Linked DNA regions of Homo sapiens: region 1 is linked to region 2. The links are contacts of gene promoters, found by promoter capture Hi-C in blood cells and fetal thymus (Javierre and others, 2016). All regions are on one chromosome and are shown on one strand. The core of a region is centred on a gene start or on the middle of the fragment in contact, and the rest is flanking DNA. Distances in the headings are between cores, read along the strand shown. Region 1 overlaps LIN7A (lin-7 cell polarity scaffold A). Region 2 holds the start of LIN7A (lin-7 cell polarity scaffold A).

Evidence for each region. Contacts are between HindIII fragments. The CHiCAGO score rates a contact against its expected background, and 5 or more counts as called.
Region 1: a fragment that was not itself captured here is called in contact with the fragment with the promoter of LIN7A in region 2 in 1 of 17 cell types (neutrophils); the score reaches 6.1 in neutrophils.

Annotation. Positions count from the first base shown.
Region 1 is chr12:80,798,868-80,801,840 of GRCh38, forward strand. All of the region lies in intron 5 of LIN7A (lin-7 cell polarity scaffold A), which reads right to left. Among named protein-coding and RNA genes, the nearest start is that of MIR617, 32 kb to the right of the region's middle. The HindIII fragment of the contact is 2,482 bases long and covers 422-2,903 here.
Region 2 is chr12:80,936,624-80,939,323 of GRCh38, forward strand. LIN7A (lin-7 cell polarity scaffold A) reads right to left here and starts at 1,311. Exons shown (of 6, transcript NM_004664.4): 1 at 1,018-1,311. The coding sequence starts at 1,099. RefSeq lists a silencer at 439-648. The HindIII fragment of the contact is 1,862 bases long and covers 1,215-2,700 here.

The DNA of each region.
Region 1 (2,973 bases), core at 413-2,912, 140 kb before region 2:
GACTACAGGCATGTGCCACCACCTCCAGCTAATTTTTGTATTTTTAGTAGAGATGGGGTTTCCTCATGTGAGCCAGTCTGGTCTCAAACTCCTGACCGCAGGTAATCTGCCTGCCTTGGCCTCCAAAGTGCTGGGATTACAGGTGTGAGCCACCGTGCCTGGCCTAGAGGCTGAGTTCTTAATGAATTAAATGATAATATAACTACATGTCCTGAAGGAATGGGACTCAGAACAGGTGAATTTTAGTAAGTCTTGGATCTCTTCATCTATCCAGGGCAGGAGTCAGCCTGAGAGAGAGCACTGGGCATTCAACATGTGGGCCACTGACATACCTGTTGGGAAGAACCAGCTGCAACAAATGTTAGTATTGCCCTCAGTCATGATTTATAATTTAACTGATTAACAATTTATTTTTAAGAAAAGCTTCTTTTCCATATTAGTGTGTCTTGTTGATCAAATTGCCTACTAACTCTTAAAAGAGCCATTGTGGTAGGCAGAATAGTGCCTCCTCGTCCACTAAATGTTAAGTCCACATCCTAATCTCCATAAACTATAAATATGTTTGATTACATGATAAAGGGCAGTTAAGGTTGTAAATGAAATTAAGGTTGCTAAGAAGCCTATGTTAAAATAGGGAAATAACCCTGGATTATTTAGTTCAATCCAATGTAATTAAAAGTGGAAGAGGGATGAGTCAAAGAAAAAAAATCACAAGAGAAATTTAAGAATATTTTGAACCAAGTAAAAATAAAAAATAAAAATGTTTTGATAAGTTGTGGGAACCAAAAAATCAATCATCTATGCTTCTTCCTTAGGAAACTAGAAAAAGGGCAAATTATATCCAAAGTAAGCAGAAGAAAACAAATAATAAACATTAATGAAGATTAATTTTTCATTAATAAAAATTAATGTGGAAGAAATCAATGAAATTGAAAATAGGAAATTAATAGAGAAAATCAATGAAATCAAAAGCTGATTATTTAAAATGATCAATAAAAACCAAGCACTGTGGTGCATGCCTGTAGTCCCAGCTACTTAGGAGACTGAGATGGAAGAACTATGTGAGCCCAGGAATTTAAGTCCAGCCTAGGCAACATAGCAAGACCCTTCATCTCGAAAAAAATAAAATAAAAAGACGGATAAAATCAATAAACTTCTAGCCAAGCTAACAAAAAGGAAGAGAAGACACAAATTATTACTTCTATTAGAAATGAAAGTGGTCACATCACTACAAATACCATGGACATTAAAAGCATAGTAAAAAAATACTATGAACAACTTTATATCCACCATTTTGATAACCTAGATGAAATGGACAATTCCTTGAAAGACACAGTCTGGGCCGGGTACGGTGGCTCACACCTGTAATCCCAGCATTTTGGGAGGCCGAGGCTGGCGGATCATCTGAGGTCGGGAGTTTGAGACCAGTCTGACCAACATGGAGAAAACTGGTCTCTACTAAAAATACAAAATTAGCTGGGTGTGGTGGCGCATGCCTCTAATCCCAACTACTCGGAAGGCTGAGGCAGGAGAATTGCTTGAACCCGGGAGGTGGAGGTTGCAGTGAGCTGCGATCGTGCCATTGCACTCCAGCCTGGGCAGCAAGAGTGAAACTCCGTCTCAAAAAAAAAAAAAAAAAAAAAAAAAAAAAAGACACAATCTGCTAAAACTCACATGAGAAGAAATAGACAATTTGAATAGGTCTATATTTATAAAAGAAATCGAATCAATACTTAGTAGCCTTCCAAAGCAGGAAGCACCCGACCCTGATAGGTTCACTGGAGAATTCTACCAAAATTTAAGAAATAAGTTATACCAATTGTCTATAATTGCTTTCAGCATATCAGATAGAAGCAGAGCGAATATTTCCTAACTCATTCTATATGGCCAGCATTACATTAATACCAAAGCCAGACGAAGACACTAGAAGAAAAAAAAACCAACTACAGACCAATATCTCTCAAGAACATAAATTTAAAAACCCTCAACAAAAGTTAGCAAATCAAATCCAACAAGATTTAAAAATGTTAATGACCTTAATGTCCATTCAGAAGAGATTGATTATTGTATACCTAGAAATTAAAACTTTACACAGATATTTAAAATGTAGACCTAAGTCTACTAATGTTAACCATATTGTTTAATTTTTAAAAATCAGGTTATAATTTAGCATGTAAAATATGAGTGAAAATAAGCATATATATATATATATAAACATACATATAAACATACATATATAGAAATAACATTTCTGGAGAAAAAACTGTGTACTAAAATGAAGTGAGATTATAGCTGAAAAGTTAATTTATTCTTTATACTTCTCTACTGTCTAAAAATTTTGCAATGAAAAAGTGTCACTTTCATACACAAACATCAAATGTAAATCAATAGAAATAAATTAACAGTTTTGCAAGCACCAAGACAACAACAAAAGTGAAAGAGGGGGACAGAAAACAGCGTTGTGATGAAGGCAGAGGTCAGAGAAATGCAATGTGAGAAGGATTCCACTACCGCTACTCGTTTTGAAGATGGAGGAAGGGCCCAGGAAGCAATGAATTTTCCCCTAGAGCCTCCTAAAGCCCAGTAAAACTGTGTTGGACTTCTATCCTACAGAATTACAAGATATATTTTTAAAATTGTATATTCAATTGGCAAATAATAATTGTATACATTTGTGATGTACAAATTTGTGATGTACAAATAAATTTGTGATGTATAAATATATTGAATTGATGTTTTGATATGTTTAAAATGTGAAATGATTAAACCAGATAAAATAATTAACACATTTTATCACCACACATACTTATTTTTTGTGGTGGAAATATTTAAAAGCTATCCTTTTAACAATTTTGAAATAGATATTATTATTTAACTCATCATTCTGTGCAATAGATCACTAAAGCTTATTCCTCCTGTCTAACTGAAACTTTATACCCTTTGGTCAACTTCTCCCCTTTCTTTCCCCGATCA
Region 2 (2,700 bases), core at 61-2,560:
ATCACTGGACGCTGGAGCCAGGAAGGAAACCCACACACTCAGGGACAGGTATAACCCCACAGGGGTGCACCAGTGAGGCCCCGATCGCAGCGGAGGACTCCATCCCTGAGCTTGTGAGGGCGTCCTGGGGAGGAAGCGAACACTTTCCCCGTTCAAGTCAGAGAGCAGGACTCACTGGGTGGCAGGTCAGAAGTTGAATTTTAACCCGACCTGCGCTTTGTCCCCGCGCCTTCCGCAGCCTGGGCGCCGCGGTGGCACCGAGCTGGGAGAGGACACGAGAGGCTGGCGCGGGAGAAGCCGAGAGTTGCTATCGACCGGGAGCTGCCGGCGGCGGGAGCAGACGCGACCCTCGCCGCTTTCGATCTCGAAGCCGCGGAGAGCCGATCTCGGCTGCTGGGGCTCGGCTCCCCGCGCTCTGCCTTGCCCTTTCGGCAGAGGGCAGCTCCCTGCCTGCTGCAGCCCCGCCACTGTGCGCCCGGCAGCCCAGGGGTGCGCCCAGCCCGCCCCCCGAGTGGCCGCCGGGACTCCAGCAGTTGGACCGACCCTCGCCCTCCGGCGCCTGGACAAACTTCCTTCCTCCCGGGCCCCTGCGCCAAGCAAGCTGACAGGCGGCTCCCTCGCCGGTCTCCTCTGGGCTCTGGCCGGGCGAGCTTGCTCTCTGCCCCTCTCCAACCCCGAGCCCCTGGCGCCTATAGCCGTCCCCGCGCAGCGGCTCCAACAAAGCCAGAGGACCGGAGACGACCCGGCGAGGGGCTGGGAGTGGCAGCGGGGACCCCAGAGCCAGAAGGAGGCGTCCCCTCGGCGGGGCGAGTACAGTGGGAAGGGGCAGCGGGAACGTAGCGGGGAGAGAAAGGGGAAGAAAGTGTTCTGTTCTCGGCGCGAACGCCTTCCTGGCTCGTCCTCGTTCCCCTTCTCCTCCTGCCTGAGCGCGTCCCATGTCCCGTTGGGAATTGGCAGGCGGGGAAGGGAGGAGGGGAGAGGGGACGCGGTGGCCTGGCGAGCGAGCCGCTCCCTTACCTCTGTCCAGGGTGAGCGGCTGGACCACTGTCAATGTCGCCATGTCTGCCGTGGGAGCCGAAGTGACGCTCGGCTTCAGCATCAGCAACCGCTCGTAGTGAGAAAAAAAGGAGGAGATTGGGGGCGGGGGTGGAGAGGGAAGACGGAAAGGAGGGGGAGGAGGGGGAAGGAAGGAAGGTGGTGGTGGTGGAGAAGAAAGCTTGGGTGGGTTGGTAGCCAGATGGAGACGCAACTGTTCCGCGGCGGCAGATCTTCAGTTGCGGTGCGGAGCTGAGCAGGTATCCGAGAGCGACTGCATCGCCGGGCTCTGGGAGGGAAGGCTCTGCCCTAGAACTTTGCTATTCCACCCCCAGGAGCGCTGGGTGGGTGTAGCTGGCGGGTTGCTTCCTTTCAACTTTCCACTCTAATAAAATGGTCAGAATATACGTGTGTGCATGCGGGTGCGTGTGTGTATAAGGGGAAGAGAGAGGATGGAAAGGGGATATGGGGAAGGGAGTGGGAGATGAGTTTTCTCAGATTAAGAGAAATTGCCAATCCAATAATCCCATCCCCTTTAGAGAGAAAATGCTTCCATTATCAGAAATGTTTGGGATGTAATTACATTTGCAGTTAATTTCTGTTGAAGTTTTTCGGAATGTTGACCTATAACGGCATATAAAGATAACTGACTAAAGGCCAGCGTTCCATCAGTAGATGTTCATTTAGGACCTGAGTATATTGCCTGGAGAAAAAAAAAAAAAAAGGCAAACCTCTTAAAAGTGCTTCAAAATAAAAAACGTGTAGGTAAGTTTCTATCGCTAAGTTTTTCTTTTTCAAGCCACTGTTAATACATTACCAATTCAGTAAATGTAGCTTAGAAACAAGTACAGTGTTCAGATTTTCTCCGAATTTTTTACATACCACATCCTGTAAACATGCCCCACTCCCCCTCACCCACCCAGCAACAAAAACTTTGCTCTTAATGTCCAAACTGATTTTGGTTGTCTATGACTACGTTTGAAAAATATGTACCTAGCACTTTTCATGTTGATTTCTAACCAGTGGTTCAGAGATGCCACTTATCGATTGATTAACATATATGCCAGGAATTGAGATAGAAGAGTTACATTGCCTTGTGCCACGCCTTGATTTAGGAGTTCAATTTAGTCTCCGACTTCCTGTAGCCTGTAATCTAGTGGGAGATGGTGTTATTAAAAACCTGACTTTAGAGTCAGTTGATCAGGATTAAATTACGAGAGCCTTCAAATACTGGCTGTGACCTCTTCGCCCCAATAAAAAGGCTACTTTCACTATCTTGTCATAGTAGGGATTCATTTCCTGACTACGAAATCAAGAAACATAAAGAAACCTTCTATAAGCTGAATAGGGGTGACTGTGGGTGCAGGATTGGAAATGACAAAGCTGCCTCCATCTTGTTTCCTGTGACAGAGCTGAATTGTTTGGGCTAACAATAAACTCTAAAAGGCAGATACTGTTTTATAGCAAAATATTTGCATATAATTGATGCCATTTTCTTCTGATTACAGATAGGATTTCTGAAGGTCTTTTTCATTTTATAGTCTACAATTGAATTTTAAAAAACAACATTTCACCAATGTGGGAAAGCCAAAGATGATTGGCCATATATAGACTTAACAGACCCTAAGAACAAACCTAAAATAGTAGTTCGATATGTTTATTTTT